Linked DNA regions of Homo sapiens: regions 2, 3, 4 and 5 are each linked to region 1. Evidence: promoter capture Hi-C in 16 types of primary human blood cells and fetal thymus (Javierre and others, 2016). All regions are on one chromosome and are shown on one strand. The core of a region is centred on a gene start or on the middle of the fragment in contact, and the rest is flanking DNA. Distances in the headings are between cores, read along the strand shown. Region 1 holds the start of ZNF615 (zinc finger protein 615). Region 2 has its middle 4.5 kb from the start of ZNF345. Region 3 overlaps ZNF793 (zinc finger protein 793). Region 4 overlaps ZNF571-AS1 (ZNF571 antisense RNA 1). Region 5 holds the start of ZNF571 (zinc finger protein 571).

What was found. The method cuts DNA at HindIII sites, captures the fragments that hold promoters and counts their contacts. A CHiCAGO score of 5 or more calls a contact.
Region 2: a fragment that was not itself captured here is called in contact with the fragment with the promoter of ZNF615 in region 1 in 2 of 17 cell types (naive CD4 T cells and non-activated CD4 T cells); the score reaches 7.5 in naive CD4 T cells.
Region 3: a fragment that was not itself captured here is called in contact with the fragment with the promoter of ZNF615 in region 1 in 1 of 17 cell types (non-activated CD4 T cells); the score reaches 5.2 in non-activated CD4 T cells.
Region 4: a fragment that was not itself captured here is called in contact with the fragment with the promoter of ZNF615 in region 1 in 1 of 17 cell types (non-activated CD4 T cells); the score reaches 5.2 in non-activated CD4 T cells.
Region 5: a contact is called between the fragment with the promoter of ZNF571 here and the fragment with the promoter of ZNF615 in region 1, in 1 of 17 cell types (total CD4 T cells). The highest score is 5.6, in total CD4 T cells.

Annotation. Positions count from the first base shown.
Region 1 is chr19:52,006,728-52,009,595 of GRCh38, forward strand. ZNF615 (zinc finger protein 615) reads right to left here and starts at 1,484. Exons shown (of 7, transcript NM_001199324.2): 1 at 1,414-1,484; 2 at 566-603. LOC124904755 (a long non-coding RNA gene) reads left to right here and starts at 1,571. Exons shown (of 2, transcript XR_007067321.1): 1 at 1,571-1,752. RefSeq lists enhancers at 1,245-1,854, 1,915-1,994. The HindIII fragment of the contact is 6,775 bases long and covers 1-2,868 here.
Region 2 is chr19:36,844,924-36,847,791 of GRCh38, forward strand. It overlaps a transcript of ZNF790 not described here. Among named protein-coding and RNA genes, the nearest start is that of ZNF345, 4.5 kb to the right of the region's middle. The HindIII fragment of the contact is 5,910 bases long and covers 1-2,868 here.
Region 3 is chr19:37,534,017-37,536,884 of GRCh38, forward strand. The region is part of intron 7 of ZNF793 (zinc finger protein 793); the gene reads left to right. LOC124904708 reads right to left here. Exons shown (of 2, transcript XR_007067248.1): 2 at 1-112. Among named protein-coding and RNA genes, the nearest start is that of ZNF571-AS1, 13 kb to the right of the region's middle. The HindIII fragment of the contact is 3,580 bases long and covers 1-2,868 here.
Region 4 is chr19:37,555,107-37,557,974 of GRCh38, forward strand. All of the region lies in intron 2 of ZNF571-AS1 (ZNF571 antisense RNA 1), which reads left to right. It also overlaps a transcript of ZNF540 not described here. Among named protein-coding and RNA genes, the nearest start is that of ZNF571-AS1, 7.6 kb to the left of the region's middle. The HindIII fragment of the contact is 8,397 bases long and covers 1-2,868 here.
Region 5 is chr19:37,593,329-37,596,196 of GRCh38, forward strand. ZNF571 (zinc finger protein 571) reads right to left here and starts at 1,464. Exons shown (of 4, transcript NM_016536.5): 1 at 1,413-1,464. It overlaps ZNF540 (zinc finger protein 540), which reads left to right and starts at 1,548. Exons shown (of 5, transcript NM_001172225.3): 1 at 1,548-1,767. RefSeq lists enhancers at 425-1,106, 906-1,035, 1,106-1,155, 1,107-1,789, 1,386-1,585 and 2 more. The HindIII fragment of the contact is 14,201 bases long and covers 1-2,868 here.

The sequences.
Region 1 (2,868 bases), core at 234-2,733:
GTTAATGGTAAAAGCTAGGTGGTAGGCATATTGGTATTAACATTAAACTTCTTTCAATATTTCCATAGGTTCAAAAATTTTCACAAAATAATATGTTAGGCAGAGAGAAAAATATTGTAATACTAAGAATTAAGATGACCAAATATAAAATAAATATTTAAAATTAATTTATCTTTTGTTATAGATTATAAGGAAAGGGGAGTCAGAAAGCAATACACTGCAATAAAAGTAATAGTCTAGATTGAAGATTAAAGGCAGGAAAAACAAAATTCATGGATAAATGGATAATCATAAAATGTTCCTAAAAATAATACCTAAACATTTTAAAACATTTCACTTCTATCCAAATGTACGCATAAACTTAATGTGAATGCACTTATAGTACCACCGGCTCAAACAGTAAAAACAACTTCTAAATGTTTATTACATAATATAAAGCGAAAAAGATAATAGTACCATTTACATAATTTATCTGAATTATGAATATTAAGCACATAACATACACGTCTAAAATTGAAATATTCTGAAAATTTGACAAAGGTTATCTTTGAGTAACCGAGCTTACCATGGCAGAGATGTTATCTTACTTGTGTCAGAAAGAACCTGAAAAGAAATATCCAAGAGGATACGCTGGAAACTTGCAGGACAAAGGGTAGAAGCCGCATCTTAAATATAAAACATACTACTTTTAGGTATGCTAGATGACTGATCTCGCCAAAAACTTCCATTTCTGAGGATTCAAGACCAAGGGGTGATGGAAGGTGCCAAAGGGGATTTAAAAACCAGTCGTGGAGAAGGGTCTTGGGCAGAAGGGGAATGCTAATGAGCATCAATTCTGTTCCAGCAGCCAGGGCTGGGGCTAACCCATCACCTGCCATGGTTCCCAGGCCTCCAGAGCTGCAGCCCACATCGGAATCTGTGGCGCTACCACCACCGCCACCGGGATTAATTCCAAAACCTGGATCAGAAACCTCCGTACCTTAACCCCCAAGACAGTTCCTCAATCATTTAGTCCCAAACAAAACCTGAACCATAAACCGATTCGCTGACAAAACAAACCCTCCAGTTCGCAATCACTGAGCCCCGCCAAAGGACAACACCAAAGACACCAGAATGTGACTTGGGCACTCAGTAGCGGATCTCTAGAGATCTTTAACCACAAACTACACGAGGACCCTGTGACTGGTCCCAGAGGTACCCCGATCACACACACACACACCCTATCACGGACCTCTTGTAGTTCCCCTGCGATAGGAATCGGACCCACGCTAAGCTCCTGAAAGAATTCCACTGGCGTCGCCAAACGCTGGCGCCGACAGATACCAGTCCATCACCACTGTCCACGAACACGCCCAGCCACGGACAGAATTTCCTCCCCCGTCACCACAGCGACCACCCAGTGACTGAACTTACTTCCCAGAACTTGGTGGGCTCCGGCCTCATCTCTCGGCCTCCTCAGTGCCTGACGGCGACTATCCAGGGTCGGAGGCGTTCCCAGCGTTTGCGCAGATGCAAGATGGCCGCGCCCTCGTCGCCTTGGCTCCATGGGGGCCGCCATCTTTGAGTATCTGACGTACACAAGGCAAAGGGCGCGTTTTGGCGCTGGTGACCGGGGGTGACCGGGGGTGACCGGGGATGGCCGGGAAGATGAAAGAGCACTGAAACTGTCCCATTTCCTGGCACCTCAACCCTTCATAAATACGGGTCCATATACAGAGGCTCCAGTTTACACAAGACAAAAATGGCGTGGAGGTAAATCCCTTTCAGCAGCTGAATAGAAGGCTAAGATGGCCGCGACGTTTACACTTTGTACAAAGGTTAGGAAACAGTTCCTTGTGAGGGAAAAGGAGAACCGGCCGAGAGGGGACACTTCGGCCAAAGCCAGATTTCTAACAAAGTAGCTTGAAGCGCCTTTTGAACGCAGAAGAGGGCTGTTAGCTACGCTGACGGAACAGGGGTAGCAGTCACAGACTAGGTAATGAAAACGGTTGGAACGTGCCAAAATTATGTTGGGTGAAAGGCATGGGGAAAAGCCAGTAAAAGCCAGAAAGTATAGTTCCCAAGGCGGAGGGGAGAGCCTGGGACCCAGGTGGAGCCAAATATGAGGGCTGGACTCAGGAGAAGTGGCCAGAAATTAAGGGAACAGGACCACTTCAGTGAGAAAAAAAAGGTTGGGAAAGAGGCCGGGCGCGGTGGCTCACGCCTGTAATCCCAGCACTTTGGGAGGCCGAGGTGGGCGGATCACCTGAGAGCGGGAGTTCGAGACCAGCCTGACCAACATGGAGAAACCCTGTCTCTACTAAAAATACAAAATTAGCCAGGCATGGTGGCGCATGCCTGTAATCCCAGCTACTCGGGAGGCTGAGGCAGGAGAATCGCTTGAACCCGGGAGGCGGAGGTTGCTGTGGGCCAAGATGGCGTCATTGCACTCCAGCCTGGGCAACAGGAGCAAAACTCCATCTCAAAAAAAAAACAAAAGAAAGAAAGGTTAAGAAGGAGATCACGTTATACTACGTGTGCCAACCGCGAATAGTATGTGCAAAGTCATGGCAATGCTGAACTGTAAATATAAATCCAACCAAACTTCCTATATTAGAAGAATGAGAGAAAGGAAATGCCTGTGTGAATCTATGTGTGTGATATAGGTATCAGTATATAAATATACAGAGAAATTGTCAAACTATTTTTCAGAGTCAAGTTCGTGTTCCATTTGCTCTTCTCACCCTTGGTATATGAGAGTTTTTCTTTTTTTTTGTTTTTTTTTTGTCTCTTTTTGAGGCAAGGTCCACTCTGTTGCCCAGTCTGGAGTGCCTGGGGAGATCACAGCTCACTGTAACTTGGAACTCCTGGGCTCCTGAATAGCTGGGA
Region 2 (2,868 bases), core at 117-2,616, about 15 Mb before region 1:
TGTAGTCCCAGCTACTTGGGAGGCTGAGGCAGGAGAATGGCGTGAACCCGGGAGGCGGAGCTTGCAGTGAGCTGAGATCCCGCCACTGCACTCCAGCCTGGGCGACAGAGCGAGACTCCGTCTCAAAAAAAAAAAAAAAAAAAAAAAAAAAGAAATACTAAATGGAGTTTTTCGAGAAGAACAAGATCTCAGATGAAACAGAAAGAAATTTAGGCCAGGCACAGTGGCTAATACTAGTAATCCCAGCAATCTGGGAGGCCAAGGTGGAGGTTCATTTGCATCTAGGAGTTCAAGACCAGCCTGAGCAATATAGCAAGACTTTGCCTCTACAAAAAATCAAAAATTAGCTGGGCGTGGTGGCGCACACCTGCGGTTCCAGCTACTCAGGAGGCTGAGGTAGGAGGATCACTTGAGCCTGGGAGGTCGAGGCTGCAGTGAGCCATGATCATGCCACTGCACTCAACCTGGGTGACAGAGTCCCTGTTTCCAAAAAAAAAAAAAATTAGTAGGGAAAGAATAGCAATAGAAAGAGTAAGTATGTGAATATAAATGAATATTGACTGCACAAAGTAATATACTGCCCTCTGGGGTTTTGAATGTATGCAGAATTAAATAACAAAAATAAAGCAAAAATGAGGATGGAGGTAAATGGAGTTAAAGTGTCCCAAGGTCCTCTAGCAGTATTGGGGAAATGGTAAAGTCAATAATTTGTCCTAGACTAAAAGAAAGAGGAATGCTGTAATCTTTCAGGTAATCACTAAAAGATTTTTAAAAACATGTACAACAAATTGACAGAAAAAATGGATCCACCTTTGGCTTTGCAGAAAATGACAGTGCAATATGACAGCACAAAGATTTATAAAGAACCTAGATTCTTTTTTTTTTTTTGAGGGGGGTGGTGGGAGACGGAGTTTCACTCTTGTTGCCCAGGCTGGAGTGCAATGGCATGATCTCGGCTCACTGCAACCTCTGCCTCCCGGGTTCAAGCGATTCTCCTGCCTCAGCCTACCCAGTAGCTGGGATTACAGGAATGCACCACCACACTTGGCTAATTTTTGTATTTTTATCAGAGACGGCGTTTCACCATGTTGGCCAGGATGATCTCGAACTCCTGACCTCAGGTGATACGCCCATCTTGGCCTCCCAAAGTGCTTGGATTACAGGCATGAGCCACCACACCTGGCCCCAATCTTATCTTTATCTGGAATATGATATATTTCATTTACACATTCATTGTCCACTTCCCCAACTAGAATGGTATACTCTGTGAGGACAGGAAATCTTGGCTGTTCTGTTCACTGATATTTTCCTAGTGCCTAGAATAGCACCTGGCACAGATAAGGAGCTCAATGAGGCCAGGCGCAGTGGCTCACGCCTGTAGTCCCAGCACTTTGGGAGGACGATGCGGGCAGATCACAAGATCACGAGGTCAGGAGATCGAGACCATCCTGGCTAACACAGTGAAACCCTGTCTCTACTAAAAATACAAAAATTAGCCGGGCATGGTGGCAGGCGCCTGCAGTCCCAGCTACTCGGGAGGCTGAGGCAGAAGAATTCTTGAACCCGGGAAGCGGAGGTTGCAGTGAGCCGAGACAGTGCCACTGCACTCCAGCCTGGGCGACAGAGCGAGACTCCGTCTCAAAAAAAAAAAGAGCTCAATGAATATCTGCTGAATGAAGAAATACAATGGTTGACAGGAACAGGAAATAGGAACTTTCATACATTTCTGGTTGGAATAAAAATTAGTTCACCATTTGTGGAAGGTAAATACTTACATAGCCTCTGTGTTCTAACTGCATTTCCTTAGATTCTCTATTAGTCTATTTGGCACTCGTTCATCAAGAGGCCAATTATATTAACTATATTTTCTTATTTTCTGTATTCTTGATGCTCTGGCATTTGGGGACCTTACCAAAAACAGGGAGAGGCTGCTCCTCTCAGGGCTAATTCCTAAAGATAATCACAGTTTTCCAATGAGCACAGCTTACATATGCAAACCAACCAATCCTGAGTCTATACCTCTCTGATATTGTGATGTAATAAGAAATATGTATTTTGGTCTTTATCCATGCCCATGGTTCTTGGTTCATGGGTCCTAAAACCCTTGTAGTTTCCTAAACAGAGTATTTTCTGTTAAAACACTTGTTCTTAGCCAAGTGCGGTGGCTCACACCTGTAATCCCAGCACTTTGAGAGGCCAAGGCAGGCAGATCATGAGGTTAGGAGTTCAAGACCAGCCTGGCCAACATGGTGAAACCCTGTCTTTACTAAAAATACAAAAATTAGCCGGGTGTGGTGGCGCACATCTGTAATCCCAGCTACTCGGGAGGCTGAGGCAGAATTGCTTGAACCCGGGAGGCAGTGGTTGCAGTGAGCCGAGATTGCGCCACTGCACTCCAGCCTGGGCAATACAGTAAGACTTTGTCTTGGGAAAAAAAACAAAACAAAAAACAAAACAAAAACACTTGTTCTTTTGTCCTTGGTTATGTTCTGAATGTGTTCCCCAAAATTTATATAGTGAAACTTAATCGCCAATGTGTTAGATTAAGAAGTGGAGCCCTTCACGCCTGTAATCCCAGCACTTTGGGAGGCCGAGGCGGGTGGATCACCTGAGGTCAGGAGTTCGAGACAAGCCTGGACAACATGGTGAAACCCCGTCTCTACTAAAAATACAAAAATTAGCCGGGATTGGTGGCATGTGCCTGTAATCCCAGCTACTTGGGAGACTGAGACAGGAGAATCACTTGAACTGGGGAGATGGAGGTTGCAGTGAGCCAAGATCACGTCATTACACTCCAGCCTGGGCGACAAAGAGAGACTCTGTCTCAAAAAAAAAAAAAAGAAGTGGAGCCCTTAGGAGGTGATTAAA
Region 3 (2,868 bases), core at 187-2,686, about 14 Mb before region 1:
CTGGAGTGTGTTCCTCCATTAAACTGTGCTCTTCAGCTGTCCTGAGACTGTGGTATCCCGGTTATCAGTTGCCCTCCTCTTCTTTTCTTCTCCTCTTCTGAAAATTTCGTAACTGCAAATTCCACAAGAATGTATCTAGTCAGCCTCCCGTTTTTCCAGCTACTCTGTTACTATCTATTTCCCTGGCTCAAACCCAGCATTTTCCTTCCAAGGAACAATTGCATTTTCTGTTTTCCATAACTTGGTTCTCTTTCCAGTGGTGTAATCCTCTCAAAGAACTCACCCATTCTGAGAGTACATGATTCTCACAACCAGCCCTTTTGCCATGTTGGGCCCTTTTTTCCCCCTTGCACTGCCCACCCCCGCATTTAACCAGTCTGTGGATTACACTACAGGTGTGCACTTACCCTGTTCTTTGTGTGTCAAAAACTAAAATCATCTTTATTTGTCCTTGCTACCCCTGCCACACACACACTCACACTCACACACACACACACACACGCACACACACACACCACTTCATCTTGCTTATTATTCCAGGGCTTTGCTACCGTGTGGTCATTTTGAATCTTCTGCCTTTACCACTCACTCTAACTGTTCCATTCATATGTGTGGTTTTGTTGATTTTTTTTCTTCTGAGAAATGGCTTTAAATCTTCCTCTCTGCTTTTTTTTTTTCTTTTTGAGACAGTGTCTCACTCTGTCACCCAGGCTGGAGTGCAGTGGCATGATCATGGCTCACTGCAGCCTTGACCTCCTGGGCTCAAGCGATCCTCCCACCTCTTAACCTCCCGAGTAACTGGGATTATATTCACGTGCTACCACACCTGGCTAATTTTCATTTTTTTTGTAGAGAAGGGGTTTTGCAGTGCCGCTCAGGCTGGTCTCAAACTCCTGGGCTCAAGCAGTCCACCTGCTTTGGCTTCCCAAAGTGCTGGATTTACTGGCATGAGCCACCATGCCCAGTCCTTCTCCACTTTTTTTTGTTGTTATTGTTCAGATGAAGTCTTGTTCTGTCACCCAGGCTGGAATGCAGTGGTGCCATCTCAGCTCACTGCAACCTCCGCCTCCTGGGTTTAAGCAATTCTCTGCCTCAGCCTCCGGAGTAGCTGGGATTACAGGCACGTGCCACCACCCCCAGCTAATTTTTGTATTTTTAGTAGAGATGGGGTTTCACCATCTTGGCCAGGCTGGTCTTGATCTCCTGACCTCGTGATCCACCCGCCTTAGCCTCCCAAAGTGCTGGGATTACTGGCGTGAGCCACTGCACCCAGCCCCACTTTTAATTTTCCACTGATATCTCCTAAAATGAGACCCAGATTATCTCATGACTGAATGTCTTTAAGTGAGGGGTTATTAATTATTTTTGTGCCATGGACTTCTTAGGCATTCTTTTGAAGGCTATAGACCTCACTTCTATGTATAAAAATATAATAACGTTCATAAGATTATAAAATAAATGACTAAAGTACAGTAATTATCAAAATAAGCTAGAAAATAGTTATCAAAAAAAAATTTTTTTTTTTTTAGATGGAGTTTCACTCTGTCGCCCAGGCCGGAGTGCAATGGCATGATCTCAGCTCACTGCAGCCTCCTCCTCCTGGGTTCAAGCGATTCTCCTGCCTCAGCCTCCCGAGTAGCTGGGACTACAGGTGTGTGCCACCACGCCCAGCTTATTTTCTATTTTTAGTAGAGACTGGGTTTCATCATGTTGGTCAGGCTAGTCTTGAACTCCTGACGTCAGATGATCCACCTGCCTCGGCCTCCCAAAATGCTGGGATTACAGGCGTGAGCCACCGCGCCCAGCTTCAAAATATTTTCAAAATGTGCAATATAATAGTAGATGTACTTTTTCATTTATACGTTAATGAGGCCTAGCATCAGGTCTAATAACTGTCATGATCTCAAAGAAGAGATGATTATAAACATAATAATGTGACATGAAAATAACAATATTCACAAACTAGTATCAAGTCACAGGAACCACTAATACCACTGTGTTTTGTTGCTTATATTCATATTCAAAGGAAATGTTCAATTGTAGTTGGAACTCAGTGAAAACAAAAATGTAATTTCTTTTCTATCAAAGTTCACAAGCCCCCTGTTTTCTGCCAAGTTAAGAACTCTTGCTTAAGTCCTAGTTAGCTTTGTTGATTTTATTTTTTAATCTGTTTCACCTTAGAGTGCTTTACCGTTTATATTGTAACTAACTAGCCCAACATGATATTCCCTTGGATGACTGCTATACCAGTGCTTGTTAAGCTCCAAGGTGTTTGGAATCACCGGGGCATCTTGTTGAAATGCAGAGTCTGATTAAGTAGGTCTGGGGCGGTGCCTTAGATTCTGCACATCTAACAAGCTCCAAGTAAGGCCAAAATTGCCACTTGAAGACCCACATGCTGGATAGCAAGGTACTGTATAACATTTAACCTTCTTTCTTCTGTAACAGGGATCAGCAAACTGTGGCCTACCGATTGGCCACCTGCTTTGTGAATAAAGTTTTATTAGAACACAACCACATTCTTACGTTTACATGTTGTCTATATTTTCATGGTATGGCGGGAGAGTTGAGTCATTGTGACGGAGACCATATGGCCCACAAAGCCTTTACTTTCTGACTCCTTAAGAATAAGTTTGCCAACCTCTGCTCTGTAATATCCTATTTTCTTTGAAATTATTGGTCTCTATACTCTATGATATATTGAATTCCATTTGTGCCAGTGTTCAGAATCCTCTTTACTCATAGAACACTCTTCCCTGCGTTTGTGCTTTGGGTTATGGTTCATGTTCTCTATTTGTGTGCTGTGCACTCTTTAAATTTTGAGAGCATTTCTTAAGTAGTATGAAGTTTCATAAGGATGATTCACTG
Region 4 (2,868 bases), core at 143-2,642, about 14 Mb before region 1:
TTGGATGTGCTGGGAGTCAGCTTGCACAAGTTAAGTCCTTGAGGAAGCGGCTGCCAGTGAAAGAGCCAAGATGGAGTCTGTCTGGCTCTCTTAGCTAAGGGAGAGTCAATTCAGGTGGAAACAAGGCTGGGTAATTAAAGGAAAAGGGAGAGTCTAAAAACAGGGTTAGTAAAAACAAGGTTGGGCATTACATTCCCCACTTGTGTTTTTGGGGAATCAAATCGTTGATTCCTCAATTATAACAAGGGGGTTATATTGAGTATTAAGATACATAAGTTTGACAGAAGCTATGCATTCTTTTACAAAATTAAGAAACCAATTTTATATACAAGGCCCAAAAATTAAACTTAATAGTATGATGAGGAGAGGTCCAGCTAACCCAGTGATTAAAGTAGTTAGCCAGGGGTTCCAGTTGAACATGCTTTGATACCAGGGGATGTTGTTTTCTCGTTCCTGTTGGCGCCTATCTAGATTTTCTCGAACTTTTGGAGTGTATCTTTTATGACTAAGAATGGTGGAGGAACAGTTAAATCAACTTTGTTAGGGGGTTTCTGGAACATAGGGTCACCTAGATCAGTTAAAGGCCCGATTGGCTTGGGTGGGCTCCATGAGACCAGGATTTTTTGGATGGTGAACATAGTCCCAACATCAAATCCTGGGATATAAAATCTTAATTCCCATGACATGCCATAATACTACTGAGTTGAATTAGGGTCATGGACAGTTATAGTAAGAGGATTACAATTTTTTCTAGTACATAATTTAGGACGAGAAGCACGAGTTATGGAATGAAGATCTGGTTGATCCCCCAGAGTAGGTGGCTAAAGTTACACATGTCCAATCAGGGCAGAAAAACTGGTAAGTATCTCGACAGCTAGTGTCAGGGTGATTCCCAGGACAGAGGTAAAAGTCAACATTTTGGAGTCCTTTTTCTGCACCTTTGGAGCTTCCACATCCAGTTTGGCTCCTGGAGTGTCCAAATCCTGCTGCAAGGTTGACACTTCCTGCTTTTGGGACCGGCAGATTGTGTTGCTCTTCGCGGGTACGGGCTGGCTCTGGGAACAGTACACATAAATCAACTGCAAAGGAGACTTCCTTGGAGGTACTGGCCCTCCAAGTGGTGTTTGCAAATACACATCCTGTTGTGAAAGAGGTGAGGAGAAAGGAGTAGGAAGGCGCAAAGGACATAACAGGCAAAAACAAACAAGTGAGGTAGATAAAAAGAATTAATCTAATGGCTTCACCTGACTTAGGTGCAGTTTTAAAGGGGCCTGACCCAGGCCTGGGGACCCATGTTTCTAGTTGGGCTCTGTTGGCCTTTTTGATGCGGGAGTGATGAATCTAAGCAGGAATGCCGTCCACCTTCAGAGCCATTGGCGTTGTGAGGATGATGGTGTGAGGTCTTTTCTAAGCAGGAGTGAGTGCTTCTTTCTGGAACTTTTTAACAAACACTAGGTCTCCTGGCTGGAACGAATGGCAGGACCCTGTCTGGTCAGGAATTGGATTCGGATGGGTTCCTTGAACAAGTGGCAGGATGATATCTTGTACCTGTTGGGGAGACTGTAGGTACTGTAATAAATTCTTTTGTGATATTTCTGCCAATTGGGCATCTCTTAGCTTAGGCAAGATAGGCGGCGCCCTCCCATACATGATTTCAAAAGGTGAGAACCTAGCCTAGTAAGGGGTGCACCTTACTCTAAGTAGGGCTAAAGGAAGGAGACTTACCCAATTTACACAAGTTTCTAAGATTAATTTTGTAAGAGTGTTTTTTAGGGTGTGGTTCATGCGTTCTACCTGCCCAGAGCTCTGGGCTCGATAGGCACAATGGAGCTTCTATTGAATGTTTAACGCCTTACTGACCGACAGAACTATAGACGAGGTGAAGGCCGGTCCATTATCAGACCCTATGGCAGCAGGCAGCCCATATCGAGGGATGATTTCATTGAGTAAAAACTTAACTACCAAGTTGGCGGTTTCGTTTTTGGTAGCAAATGCCTCAGTCCATCCAGAGAAGGTGTCTACTAGTACTAGAAGGTATTTGTACCCAGCCTGGTGTGGTTTTACTTTTGTAAAGTCAATTTCCCACTTCTCTCCTGGCAAGTTTCTTCGGAGACGGTGGCCTGGGCTGGGTTTAGGACCTTGTTTGGCATTTACCTGGTCGCAGGTTGTTCCCCAGAGAGCTGCTTGATCTGTTAGGCTTTGAAGACGGGGGATTCTTGTTTTTGATAGCCTTTTCTGCTGAGGTGAGTAGCCTGCGCTCCTGGCAGATGGCTCCATGTACATGCACCGTAGCAAAGGCGTACCTGCTGTCAGTGTTAACGTTAATATCCTTACCCCATCGGAGAGCCTGAGTGAGGGCGATCAATTCAGCTTTTTGCGCTGAGGTGTTTGCTGGTAAAGCCTGAGCCCACAACACATCTGTCTCCGTGGTAACAGCTGCACCGGCCTTTCGTACTCCCTGCTCGAGAAAGCTGCTACCGTCTGTGAACACGGTGGCGTCCGCCTTCTCTAGGGGCACATCTTGAAGATCGGATGGGCCAGTTTCGGTAGTTTCCAACAGTTCCTGACAGTCATGGATAGTAGCTGGATTTAAACACCGTGTGGAAGAGAAAGTCAGTTTACTGATCTAACAGTAAACTCTGATATTGCAAGATGCGAGCATTTGACATCCATTCGCCAGAAGCACTTTGAAGTAAAGTCTCTATGGCATGAGGAGCCTTAAGGGTTAAATTTTGGCCCAGAGTTAACTTATCAGCCTCTTGGACTAGGCTTGCTGTAGCGGCTACTGCTTGGCTCGCAGACAACTTGGCCATCCAGAGGTCTCAGGATCCAGTTTCTTAGATAAATAGGCTACTGGGCGTCTCCAGG
Region 5 (2,868 bases), core at 214-2,713, about 14 Mb before region 1:
CTGCTTGAAAACATCCACAATAAAGTTAAAATTTTAAAACTCTTCAAATTTCCCCCAGAAAGTACAGTTATTTTTCATCAAAACCTTAGACCAGGCCAGGCGCGGTGGCTCACGCCTGTAATCCCAGCACTCTGGGAGGCCCAGGCGGGTGGATCACGAGGTCAGGAGATCGAGACCATCCTGGCTAACACGGTGAAACCTCGTCTCTACTAAAAACACAAAAAATTAGCCGGGCATGGTGGCGGGCGCCTGTAGTCCCAGCTACTCGGGAGGCTTAGGCAGGAGAATGGCGTGAACCCGGAAGGCGGAGCTTGCAGTGAGCCGAGACCGCACCACCGCACTCCAGCCAGGGCGACACAGCGAGAATCCGTCTCAAAAAGCAAACAAACAAACAAAAAAATCTTAGACCAGAAAGGACTGCTGTATCATTGGGTGGAAAGGAGAGGTGTAGTGTGGCTGGGGAGTAGAGCTAAACTGATGATCCCATCCCCGCAGCATCATTTATGGGGTGCCTAAGGACCAGTCACTAGCATGGCTGGTTCTTCCTTAGGAAGATGTTGCTGGAGGTAGAAAACGTTTCGGAAAGGAAGAAATTTGAGGTTAGAAAGAAAACAGGAACTTCACACAAGACTTTCAGAAGTGCGATATTCTTTTCCTCTGGGTGCCTCTCTTGGAAAACGCAGAACCGAGAAAAGAAATAAGCATCATAGAACATCAGAGCTCTCGGAGCAGACGAAACAATTTAGGATAACACCAACCTCTAGAAAGGGATTAGTCTTCCCCACAGGGCTGTCAAGCTAGAATAGGACATCTTTAACAGTGGTCTTCTTCCTAAGACACTTCCAGGGGTAAAGCCTCACCATCAGGGAAACTTCAAAAAGAGCCTCTTACTCTGCAAAGAAACTGCAGCAGCTGTAACCGCACGATTCTCAGCTGGCTTAATGATGTCCGTGTCACACGAGGAGTACTGCGGCCCGGGAGGGGCCAAGCGCTAGGAGCATTAACAGGCGGCAGGTGAGCCCACCCCGCGGCCGCACAAGCGCACACGCACACGTCCAGGGCGGAGGAACACTACTAGTAACACCCGCCTCCTTCTAGCCTCCCTATCCCAAAGTTATGGTGCCGATTTTGTCCGCGGCAGGGGCTCCAGGGGCACACTCATAAATTCGGTGCGGAGGAACACAACTAGCAGCACCACACCCCCGCCACTGCCAGAACCAAAGTGACGGTGCCGACACCCCTCCGCAAGCGCAAGGCCGACTTCCATAAGTAATTAGCCAGAGCACCGTCCCGTTCCTGTCAGCACCGAGCCCCAGCCAGGACACCGGTATTCCCAGCACCATACAAGAACTACTTTTTCGATGAAGCAACCCAAAAGCTGCGAGCGGTTCCCGGTGAGGCCGCCCACTCACCTGGCCGGCGCAGACAAGCTCCGTGCGTCAAGACATAACAGCGTAAGTGTACGACGTTGCGCAGCGACGCGGGGGCCTTCGGGAAATGTAGTCTACAACTGGAAACCGGCCGGATCGTGTCTGCGCAGGCCCAGCAGCTAAGATCGGGTCCGGCGCTCCAGAACAGAACGATCCCTGAGGCTCCCTTGCTCGAACTGTGGGACTTACCCTACTATGGTCCGAGCCTACCCTATTTCATTATACTCAAGTAACGCCCCAGAAATTCCAGAGAATCTCACACAAAGAGGTTGAGTCTTGCCGTGGTGCCTTCAGGGGAATGTCATCCCGGGCTAGAAGAGCTGCAAAAGGCTGTCAGGTAAGGTCTGGATTTCTCTCTGACAGCTCTGGCCGTGACGCAGTGGCCACGATACCGGGTTGCTGCTCAACGGGGTTCGGAAGTGTGACGCATTCTTTGCGGCCATGTGTGTGTGTGTGCGTGTGTGTGTGGGTCTGTGCGCGCGCGTGTCCGAGTGTCCTCTGTGGGTGCAGAGTGGGTAGTGGCCATGCCTGTGTGATGTGCGTCAGATTATGCTTGAGGCTATTAGTGGCGCATTTAGTATTGTGTGCGGAAGGGTCTTGGGAATGGTTTGATTATAGCTTTGAGGGTGACTGATGTCTGTTTAATCAGATTCAGCCTGCGACTGAGTATCTTATAACCTGTAAGAAATTGATTTTTCTTTGCATGGTCATGAATTTAAAATAGATTCCCATGAAATTATATAAATGTAGTGAATGATTCATTGAGAGTTCGCCTGTGGCAGTGAATGTGGGGAAAGAAGTGTGTGAGCATAATATGGTGAGAATGAGCACGATTGTGTGCAGCGCTGTATTATAGTGATATCTCCTGGCTTCAGTTTTCTCACCTGTAAAGTGAGGGTGTCAGTCGTGTAACGCTTTGGAACAATGCTTTTTAATAGGAATTTCTGCAAAACTGAGTTCCATTTTTTATATCTGTGCTCTCCAATATAGTAGCCACTAGCTACATATGGCTATTGAGAAATTGAAATGTGGCTGGTTTGACTGAGGAACGAATTTTTTAAATTGTGTTCAATTTTAATAAATCTAAATGTAAACAGCTATATATGGCTAATAGTCTTCCTATTGAACAGTACAACCTGGAGCATTAATTTGCCTTCAAGATTTGAAGGGGGTAAAAACTTAATTCATCTAGCAAATATTTGAAAATGAAATTCTTAAAACTTCCTTAAATTTTTTTTTAAATTTGAGATGATTGTAGATTCATATGAGGTTGTAAGAAATAATAGAGACATTGTGTGTTATCTTCAACTTAGTCTTCTCCAATGACAACATCTTGCAGGACTGTAGTATAATATGACAACCAGGATGTTGACATTGATAGTCAAGATAGATCATTTCCATCACCTCGAGGATCTGTTGTGTTGCCCTTTTATAGACA